Linked DNA regions of Homo sapiens: all the other regions are linked to region 3. Evidence: promoter capture Hi-C in human tissues and cell types (Jung and others, 2019). All regions are on one chromosome and are shown on one strand. The core of a region is centred on a gene start or on the middle of the fragment in contact, and the rest is flanking DNA. Distances in the headings are between cores, read along the strand shown.

Evidence for each region. Contacts are between HindIII fragments. The study calls those that stand out against the background at their distance.
Region 1: a contact is called between a fragment that was not itself captured here and the fragment with the promoter of PDF in region 3, in 1 of the 25 tissues and cell types used here (small bowel).
Region 2: a contact is called between a fragment that was not itself captured here and the fragment with the promoter of PDF in region 3, in 1 of the 25 tissues and cell types used here (mesenchymal stem cells).
Region 4: a fragment that was not itself captured here is called in contact with the fragment with the promoter of PDF in region 3 in 2 of the 25 tissues and cell types used here (dorsolateral prefrontal cortex and lymphoblastoid cells).

Annotation. Positions count from the first base shown.
Region 1 is chr16:69,630,739-69,633,438 of GRCh38, reverse strand. All of the region lies in intron 3 of NFAT5 (nuclear factor of activated T cells 5), which reads right to left. Among named protein-coding and RNA genes, the nearest start is that of NFAT5, 66 kb to the right of the region's middle. The HindIII fragment of the contact is 7,985 bases long and covers 1-2,700 here.
Region 2 is chr16:69,590,234-69,592,933 of GRCh38, reverse strand. The region is part of intron 2 of NFAT5 (nuclear factor of activated T cells 5); the gene reads right to left. Among named protein-coding and RNA genes, the nearest start is that of NFAT5, 26 kb to the right of the region's middle. The HindIII fragment of the contact is 3,275 bases long and covers 1-2,700 here.
Region 3 is chr16:69,329,334-69,332,033 of GRCh38, reverse strand. It overlaps PDF (peptide deformylase, mitochondrial), which reads left to right and starts at 1,446. Exons shown (of 2, transcript NM_022341.2): 1 at 1,446-2,037. The coding sequence starts at 1,464. It overlaps COG8 (component of oligomeric golgi complex 8), which reads left to right. Exons shown (of 6, transcript NM_032382.5): 5 at 939-1,221. The coding sequence ends at 1,195. RefSeq lists enhancers at 137-784, 1,433-2,080 and silencers at 1,009-1,398, 1,429-1,808. The HindIII fragment of the contact is 3,727 bases long and covers 752-2,700 here.
Region 4 is chr16:69,608,509-69,611,208 of GRCh38, reverse strand. All of the region lies in intron 2 of NFAT5 (nuclear factor of activated T cells 5), which reads right to left. Among named protein-coding and RNA genes, the nearest start is that of NFAT5, 44 kb to the right of the region's middle. The HindIII fragment of the contact is 3,452 bases long and covers 1-2,700 here.

The sequences.
Region 1 (2,700 bases), core at 146-2,645, 300 kb before region 3:
TAGTTATAAACACTTTTTGCTTATATTTTCAATCTTGTTGGTGATATAAAAAAGTCCACTTCTATGCATTAATTTCTTAGGCAAAATTGTACAGAATGCATAAAATCAGTAACTGTATCTATTTTCTATAAGTATTTAGCTTATGAATGAGAATCTGTGAACAGTTTCAAAATGCTGTTCTGTTGACTCAAGTAATATAAAAATATGCTTATTTATTAGAAACTGAATAAATCACAATATTTATAAAAGTGTTATTAAGAGGACAATAAAAAGAGAAATATTAAAGGAACAAAGCAATAATAGGCCAAGTTTGCTTTTTGGCAATGTCAATTTGTAACTGTCAAACAATTAGCAGTTGTTTCTGAATTAATGGCTATAGGCCCAAGTTTGCTCTCTAATAATGCAGACTTCAGCATAAATCCATACATACATACCATCCATATGTATAAGTGTATGTATTTAAATTTACTATGTAATTTCAGTATAATAAGATAGAAGGAGGAGTAGAGATTTTTAAATCTGCTTGCAACATGTTTGTAACTAGGATCTGACTTCCTTCTAGAAATGGTCTAGTTTTCTTGGAAAAAAGGGAATGGCCATAAAGAATAACCAAGATCAACTCACAACATTTTAGCTCACAGCATCTGTAGGTGAATTACCTTTCTCGTTAGTGGGTTTCTGGTTTAATTTCATGAAGAGTATACTACATTAGGTGGCAAAAATTCTGAAATATGTTAACCCAGGAAAGCAATCAAAGGCAAATTTCTTCCTCAAATTTAGTCAACTCAAGAAAATCCTCATTATATAACTGTAAATACTTTCTAACGTAAGTAAATTAAGTTATAATAAATTCAATGGGATAAAAAATTTTGTTGCTAGAAATCACTTTTATTAAATTATTATTATAGAAATCAAATTCCCATTCGAAGATCCTGACACTTGTAGAGAAGAGGTATGGCTTTTCAACTCAATATTCTATACATTGCCTAGTTAAGGATCTTGCGTTTCCCTAATCGAAGTGATAGCACACAATGCCAAATTCCCTCAAGCACAATGACAAGGAGTAAGAACTAGGTAAAAGAAAAAAGAGAGATACTTTATGGCTAGAAGGATTGTGATATGATGACATGCAAATTACCTAACACAATTCTTGTCACATAGTAGGAACTTAAAAGTGATAATATATTTTCATTTTTTAAAAGCTGTCTCCTACAGGAGGAGTAACATATTTTCTTCACCTCAGTTTTTGTACAGTGTATTATTATAGATGGTTTAGAAATTTCTGTGATTTTAATTCAGGTGATTAGGAGATATGAAATGAATTAGAATATAGCACTTATTTGATTATAGGACATTAATTTGCATCTCTAGTGCCCTCTCTTATAGTATAAATAGCACTCAATGAAATTTTGTAGAAAATACTTGTTACATACTTGAGATTTATTAAGTGACATGGCATAGAACTCAAAGCACTATATATCAAAGCTCTTCCAAAAGAAAAATTTATTATATGGATCACTTCACATCAAGTTATGAACTTAAAAACCGACAGTGGTCCAACAAGTGGAGATATTCAACCAAGATTTCCACTGTACACACTTTATGACTGTGTATTATCTTTATACATGTTAAAAACTGCTATGAAGTTAGCCGGGTGTGGTGGCACACACCTGTAGTCCCAGTTACTCGGGAGGCTGAGGCAGGAGAATCGCTGGAACCCGGGAGGTGGAGGTTGCAGTGAGCCAAGATCACGCCACTGCACTCCAGCCTGGCAAAAGAGCAAGACTCCATCTCAAAAAACAAAAACAAAAACAAAAGCACAATTGCTATGAAGTATTAGTGTACTGTTACTTCTAAAAAGAGTATTAATATATAATTACTGAAACCAAAATATGAATATTATGAAGCTATGCAAAAAAAGAATTATTAATGCATTATTAAGATTCTCTGGCTGAATTATAAAACCTATAGTTTAATTCATTTTTGTTTTGTTTTGTTTTGTTTCTTTGAGATGGAGTCTCACTCTATCGCCCAGGCTGGAGTGCAGTGGCGTGATCTTGGCTCACTGCAACCTCTGCCACCCGAGTTCAAGCAATTCTCCTGCTTCAGCCTCCCAAGTAGCTGGGATTACAGAAGCCTGCCACCATGCCCAGCTAATTTTTGTATTTTTAGTAGAGACGGGGTTTCACCATCTTGGCCAGGCTGGTCTTGAACTCCTGACCTCATGATCCACCCACCTCGGCCTCCCAAAGTGCTGGGATTACAGGCGTGAGCCAGTGTACCCGGCCTAGTTTAATTCATTGTTTAGTTCAAGAATTTGAATTAAAAATTTTAAAGAAACTTCAAACAGTCCACTTAGAAAAATATATTTTGAAATAAACTAATAAACACAATGTTATATTCCCAAATGAAGCCAAACAAAACAAGTGTAGAATAGAACAAGAAAGTAACTTGATTTCTTAAAATGAAGACTAAAGTCCATGACTTTCTATTTTAAATAAATTAAGTAAATTTAATGATTAAAACTGTAAGCACATAGATTAAAAATATTTGATTATACAGCAGGTGAATTATGTCTCAATAAAGCTGTTATTTTAAAAAACCCCAAACCTGCCATACATCTTTTCAAAAGCCCCAAATTCTGATATAACTCATTTAGTTCTCCTAATACCTATGTTTTAATTCTGTATAACTATACTA
Region 2 (2,700 bases), core at 165-2,664, 260 kb before region 3:
CCCAGACAGGAAATAGATGTGAATCCATTCTTATATCCATGCCTCTGTGCTCAACTTCAAACTCCCAAGAATAAACCCTACTCTACTCTGAAAGCAATTTATTCCATTTAATGATCAAATGTATTATTTGCCTTTAAAGGATATATCTAAATCCCTTAGTTCTACACTAAACAAGTACCAATATATTTTATGATTAATAAGCATTCTTATATTTTTAGCTAGAATGCATTTTTCAGAAGCATGAATTGAGGGGAGTAATCAAAAGATGAGAAAACTATCAATTTCATAAGTATTAATGCCCCTTAAAAATTTAAGTTAGAAACATTATGAGGGAAAAAAACAGCTTCACTTTAATCTTAATCCCTGTAAAGCACACATTTTAGTCAAGACTTGAGATCATAAGAATTTGAAATAATCACAAGCTTTTATTTATTTTTCTCCTCACAATCTGTTCCCATGTTCACAAGATTTTAGATACTATAATAATTTTTGAACAACAACAAAAAAAAATCAGTGACAACTAAGTACCATGTATCATCCCTAAAAAGTAGTTACCATTGAGCATGGTGCTCACGCCTGTAATCCCAGCACTCTGGGAGGCCAAGGTGGGTGGATCACTTGAGGTCATGAGTTCGAGACCAGCCTGGCCAACATGGTGAAACCCCGTCTCTACTAAAAATACAAAAATTATCCAGGCGTGGTGGTGGGTGCCCGTAATCTCAGCTACTTGGGAGGTTGAGGCAGGAAAATTGCTTGAACTCAGGAGGCAGAGGTTGCAGTGAGCCGAGATCACACCACTGCACTCCAGCCTGGGTGACAGAGTGAGATTCCTTCTCAAAAAAAAAAAAAAAAAGAAAAAGTAATTATCATTTTCCTTTTAAGAATTATTGGTAGGAGTTACCACTAAACCTAAAAGAGCCAATAAGTATCATGGAAAAAGAGAAAGAATAAAGCTTAAAGTTTTTATAGCTTTGGAAAGACTTTTTGTAATTTTTTTTTAAATCAAGACAGGGTCTCATTCTGTCACCCAGGCTGAAATGCAGTGGCACAATCACAGGTCACTGCAGCCTCAAACTCCTGGGCTGTGTAGGAAGGGGTCTTGCTATGTTGCCCATGCTGGTCTTGAACTCCTGGCCTTAAGTCATCTGCCTTGGCCCCATGAAGTGCTGAAATTACAGGTGTGAGCTACTGTGCCAAGCCAACTTTCAATTTCTGAAAAATTTTTTGTTAAAAATATCTTGAACACCCAAAAAGAATTACTTATCCTGAAAAATCAACTTTTTTTCTCAACATATTCAGAGCAAGTTAGAGATTCATATTCAAACACTGTTTAAAGGCACTAGCATAATGTAGAAAATTATTCATAGAAGCTTCACGATAATCTTGCTAGATAAAAAGGAAATGAGGATAAAAAGAGGAAAAGAAATAAAACTAGCAAAGTTTAAAACAGATACTTGATTATGTTTCCTAACTAGAAATCCTGTCCTTTTCCCCTTACTAAACAGCTTCCTCCAAATTAACTGAATTGCATGTTTCATAAAACAGTAAATAATTTTTCCATGGTGGCCAGGCTGAAAAACCAACTATCTAAAGCTTTCCACTTCATCTTCATCCTCGGAGTAAGAAAACTGGGGCGGGGTGGGGAGGGGACTCTTTAATACTTTTTTCATACCAACTAGAAGTTAGAGAAAATACAATTTGTGGCCAGGCACAGTGGCTCATGCCTGTAATCCCAGCACTTTGGGAGGCCAAAGCAGGCATATCACCTGAGGTCAGGCGTTTGAGACCAGCCTGGTCAACATGGCAAAACCCCATCTCTACTAAAAATAGAAAAATTAGCCAGGCATGGTGGCATGTACCTGTAATCTCAGCTACTAGGGAGGCTGAGGCAGGAGAATTGCTTGAACCCAGGAGACGAAGGTTGCAGTGAGCCGAGATTACGCCACTGCACTCCAACCTGGGCGACAGAGTGAGACTCAGTCTCAAGAAAAAAGAAAATACAATTTGGGAAATAAAATGATACAGCCTCTCACACATTAAGGTCCAGATCGTGCCTAAATTTCTAGTGATTTGAGTTAGAAGACCTGAAAGATTCTCCTTTGTCTCTTATCTCACTCTAATCCCACAACACTCTACCCCAGATGGGGCGGGGAATCCCATGACACTGTACCCAAGAAAGGTAGCCATTTTAAAAATATGTTCAGCAAAACTGAAAAATAATTACATGGGACAAATCTCCCTATCCTGAACAACTAAACTGTTAGGCTGAGGGAGGGGAAAGCCAAAAAAAGATATAGAACACAACCTGAAATTTATATAACACTAAATTTAAAACATGATTTGGTTTAAACCACTTTAGAATTAATTTTCTCCTTATAATCATCTAGCCTGAGACAAAGTAGCTATGAATAACAATTTTCCAGTATTTTCAAACTGAAATTCAACTGAGTCTTATTTTAACAATACAAATACAAAGAAAGAACTAGAACTGCCTTATACTTTAAATCACATTTACGCAAAAAATCCTGAACTTTGACTAATACAGTTTTTTAAATAGCACTTTAAATATCCAAACCTAAAAGTATTTGGAAATAACTTTGTTGCATACCATAGCAAAATTGTCTAAAACAAGATTTGTCAATTTACAAATCTATTTACAATACTAGAGTTTTTAGTCACCTGATACTCAGGACTCAACGT
Region 3 (2,700 bases), core at 197-2,696:
CTTTGTGGTAGGAGAGGGGCTTGGTTGAGGCACAGCTTCCCAAAGGGCAATGGGTCAGTGCATCACACGTGCAAAGCCTGGCTGCCCTCTGCTTTTTCCCTGGTGCTGCCTGAGGTCTGGGTTCCTGCTGCAGGCACCCTACACTGCTGTTCCGTTACGTTCTGCTTCACAGTATAGCTTCCCATTCCCTGTAACAAAGGTGGTTTTTGCTGTATTAAAACATAGTAATTGATGGCTGGGCGCAGTGGCTCATGCCTGTAATCCCAGCACTTTGGGAGGCCGAGGCGGATGGATCACCTGAGGTTGGGAGTTTGAGACCAGCCTGGCCAACATAGTAACTCCGTCTCTACTAAAAATACAAAAATTAGCCTGGCATGGTGGCGGGCGCCTGTAATCCCAGCTACCACGGAGGCTGAGGCATGAGAACTGTTTGAACCTGGGAGGCAGAGGTTGCAGTGAGCAGCAATCACGCCACTGCACTCCAGCCTGGGCGACAGAGCGAGACTGTCTCAAAAAAAAAAATAGTAATGGCTCGTTTTTTTTCCCTTAAATTTCCTTTTTTTTTTTTTTTTTTTTTTTTGAGACGGAGTTTTGCTCTTGTGGCCCAGGCTGGAGTGCAATGGCGCGATCTCGGCTAACTGCAATCTCCACCTCCTAGGTTCAAGCGATTCTCCTGCCTTAGCCTTCCCAAGTAGCTGGGATTACAGGCCTGCGCCACCAAGCCCGGCTAATGTTGTATTTTTAAGAGAGATGGGATTTCTCCGTGTGGGTCAGGCTGGTCTCGAATTCCTGACCTCAGGTGATCCGCCCCCCCCTCCCCGGCCTCCCAAAGTGCTGGGATTACAGGCGTGAGCCACCGCGCCCGGCCTCCCTTAAATTTCTATATTGAGTTTTATTAGTAACTGTTTTCCATTTTGCTTTCCCCACGTCTGGGTTAGGCATTCCTCCCACTCAGCTCTCCAAGTACGGTAACCTAGGGCATGTGAACATCGGCGCCATTCAGGAGCCCCTCGCCTTTATCCTGCCAAAGAGAGAGACGCTTTTCACCCTGGATGACCAGGCGCTGGGGCCCGAGCTCACAGCTCCAGCACCAGAGCCTCCCGCCGAGGAGCCACGCCTGGAGCCCGCGGGCCCAGCCTGCCCGGAGGGAGGGCGAGCGGAGACGCAGGCCGAACCGCCCAGCGTGGGGCCCTAGCCGGCGTCCCCTGCCTCCAGAACGCGGTGCGTGAGGTTCCCGGCGCGGGGTGGCCAGGACTGCCTCGCCCTGGAAGGTCCGGGGCGGGTTCGGGAGGCGGGAAGGCGCTCCCGGGAGGAGAGCGGAAGGGGGCGGTGCTCACTGCCAGTCTAAGCAGGAAGGCGGGGATCCAGTCGCGGCTTCGCTGTGTGCTGGCCGACGGCGCTTCCCGGCGTGCCCCGCGCTGCGGCCGGAAGGGGCGGGCCGGGTCACTGTTAAGGGGGCCGCCATGGCCCGGCTGTGGGGCGCGCTGAGTCTTTGGCCACTGTGGGCGGCCGTGCCGTGGGGCGGGGCGGCAGCCGTCGGTGTCCGGGCTTGCAGCTCCACGGCCGCCCCGGACGGCGTCGAGGGCCCGGCGCTGCGGCGCTCCTATTGGCGCCACCTGAGGCGTCTGGTGCTGGGTCCTCCCGAACCGCCGTTCTCGCACGTGTGCCAAGTCGGGGACCCGGTGCTGCGCGGCGTGGCGGCCCCGGTGGAGCGGGCGCAGCTAGGCGGGCCCGAGCTGCAGCGGCTGACGCAACGGCTGGTCCAGGTGATGCGGCGGCGGCGCTGCGTGGGCCTAAGCGCGCCGCAGCTGGGGGTGCCGCGGCAGGTGCTGGCGCTGGAGCTCCCCGAGGCGCTGTGTCGGGAGTGCCCGCCCCGCCAGCGCGCGCTCCGCCAAATGGAGCCCTTCCCCCTGCGCGTGTTCGTGAACCCCAGCCTGCGAGTGCTTGACAGCCGCCTGGTCACCTTTCCCGAGGGCTGCGAGAGCGTCGCCGGCTTCCTGGCCTGCGTGCCCCGCTTCCAGGCGGTGCAGATCTCAGGTGCGGGCGGCGGGGACCGGGGCTGCTGGAGCAGCGCGCGCGTCTCTTCTGCCCGACTCCGCGAGAGCGCAGAAGTGGTCGCGGTTCATACGCCGGACCTCCCGCAGGAGCGAAGTGGGATGCGGGAGCGGAGAGGCCTCAGGACGGATAGAAGCTCCTGTGGGGTAGAGCCCGCTCAGATAGGACGCAGGGGCGAGGAGAGGTCCCCTAGTTCCGCTGTTACCTGACAGCCTGGCGTCTGCTTTCTGCTCCCTTGCTCTCTGAGGCAAACACGCTCTTCGGCCCCAGTTAGATCCGCCACGGTGGAGTTGGAGAAGTGGGGGTTAGCCCCCGCCAGCCTGACCCAGCCCAGGGGGCTAGGCCATTCCCCCGTGGTACCACAGGATGCCTCGCGGAATGCGGGCTCTGCTGGGGTCGGGGTGATTGTTCCTGCACAGCAAGCCCGTCGGTTCAAGATGGTCAGAAAAACAAGTGGGGTCTCAAGCTGCAGAACCTCTGTTAGGAGTTGGGAGCCCACAGGTACCTCAGAAGTGGGAGGAGTGTTCGGAAGGGTCGCACCGTAGAAAGATGATTTCTCATCTCAGCTCTACAGTGAGCTCGATAACCTAATTACCAGAGTTGGGAACCAGGTTGAACGCTTGGTAATGGACCGAGATGAGGGAC
Region 4 (2,700 bases), core at 149-2,648, 280 kb before region 3:
CCTTTCTAAACTAATCATGTCCTTGTAAACATACATAATAATCTATCAATGAAAAGAAACAAGCAGAATTACAATTTATATTATTTTACATATATTATTTTGTTGTTGATCTTGAAAGACAGTCTAATATTAAATTCACAAGATCAACAGCATTTTCAAAAATAAGAAAAAACTAATTTTGTCACCATTTGTTCATTTCGTGTGCATAGGTACACACACAGTAAATCACATGTTCACAGAAACCCGAGTCTGCTCCCAAAAAGCTTTCAGTCCAGTGAGGTTGACTGAAAGCACATAAATAGCCAATCAAAACTGTATCAAGACACCAGAGCTATGAGGGAAAAAAGGTAGTAGGAGAGAAGAAATATATAGAGGGCCATGCAAGAATGGTATGAATGTAATGAATGTAGTTTTAAGGGATTAATCTAATCTAAATTAATCTAAAATTCACATTAAAAGCAAGAATTTTAGAGGTAGAAGTGGTGAAAGTATTTGGTGTAACCCTCAGTTTTTACGGAGAAGAAATTATGTTCCAATTAGGTTACAACTTCCTTTGTAGAGCCAAGACTAGCTAAAGCTGGGTCCCAGGCAGGAGAATAGCTGGCTGAAAGATAAATTCTTTCCCCAGCATTCCTGTCTATGCAATTAGAGTAACACTGAGGTTAGGAATGCCATCTATTTTACTTACTATATTATTATGCCTGGCACATAATGGGCATTTCAATAATGTGCTTAATAAATAAACAAATGAATGAATAAGCAAATCATCTACCTTAAGTGATTCTACCCAAACAATTCTAAAACATAAATTCCTGTTTTTATACCATAATCTTAGAGATGAAAAACAAAAATATTAGACAAACAAAAACCAAAAAAAACCCATCTTGTTTTCCTTTCTGTCATTACCAGAATATCCTACTACCTGAACTAAAAATGTTATCTTTCTATGTTATATTTAATCCAAATACCCTGTCCCCTCACGTCCTATCTTCCAACTTCCACCCCATTATCACCTAAATCACCAATTTTCTGATTAACAAAAATCACTTTTCATATCTCAGGGTCTTCACTTTCAGTTATTTTTAAAGCCTTAAAAAGTTAGTTTTCTTTTTTTCTATTTATACGCACAATTTTTTTCCCTTCTTTGACCCAACACTGAAGAACTCAACAAGACACTCGCTCTATCTGTCTCTCTCTCTCTCTCTCTTCTTGTCTCACTCTGTTGTCCAGATTGGAGTGCGGTGGCACAATCATTGCTCATTGCAGCCTCAACCTCCCAGGCTCAAGTGATCCTCACACTTCAATGTCCCAAGTATGCTGGGCCTACAGGCTCATGCCACCATGTCCAGCTAATATTTTCTTTTTTCTTTTTTTTTTTTTTTTTTTTTTCAGTAGAGACAGGGTCTCACCATGTTGTCCAGGCTGGTCTTGAATTCCTGGGCTCAAGCAATTCTACCACCTTGGCCTCTCGAAGTGCCGGTATTACAGGTGTGAGCTACTGCACCTGGTCCTACTTTGTCTTTTCTATTCTACACAAAGATGATCACCCACAAGCAAGTATTCAGACCTCATACTTTGAGATATAAGCTGATGTTTACAGAGATCAAAAATAAGTGTCTACAATGAGTGGCAATGAACAAATGATCAAATTCATTACTTCTGCCTCTTAATTCAATTTTTTCCATTTTAACTTTGTTTCCCTTACTTTCCGTACAACTGCAGAATGCCTCTAACTTAAGACTGGTTTTCAACAGGGAATACCAGAATTTCATGTAGACATATGTATATTTTTTTTAACCTGAATGAAGATGCCTGGGATTTCATCACAGACCGACTACTGAATAGGGGTTTACAGGGAATAAGATCACAGAATGTATATGTGTATAAAGCTTCACAAGTGATTCTGGCTAACAGCCATTACTCTGAAGCATGAAATGCAGCTGGAATGAAAATGGATTGGCTTGTATTTACTACCTCTTTAAGCATTGCTAGTTAATTCATTTTTTTCTGAAGAGTCTAGGAAAGAACAGCAACCAAAGACCTGAACCACCTTCTTCTGCAGATTACCTAAATACTTTTTTTTTTTTTGAGGCGGAGTCTCACTCTGTTGCCCAGGCTGGAGTGCAGTGGCATGATCTTAGCTCACTGCAAGCTCTGCCTCCTGGGTTCACACTATTCTCCTGCCTCAGCCTCCCGAGTAGCTGCGACTACAGATGCCTGCCACCACGCCTGGCTAATTTTTTGTATTTTTAGTACAGACGGGTTTTCACCGTGTTAGCCAGGATGGTCTCGATCTCCTGACCTCGTGATCCGCCCGCCTTGGCCTCCTAAAGTGCTGGAATTACAGGCGTGAGCCACCACACCTGGCCAGATTACCTAAATTCTTCAACCTAGAGGAAAAAACAATTATATTTACATAACAAAAAATTAGCCGGGCGTGGTGGCAGGCACCTGTAGTCCCAGCTACTTGGGAGGCTGAGGCAGGAGAATGGCGTGAACCCAGGAGGCAGAGCTTGCAGTGAGCAGAAATTGTGCCATTGCACTGTACCACAGCCTGACTAAAATGACAACTACTATTTCACATGGTGGTAGATAATTTTCAATATACTTATTTTTAGTAGAGACAGGATTTCACCGTGTTAGCCAGGATGGACTCGATCTCCTGACCTCGTGATCCGCCCGCCTCGGCCTCCCAAAGTG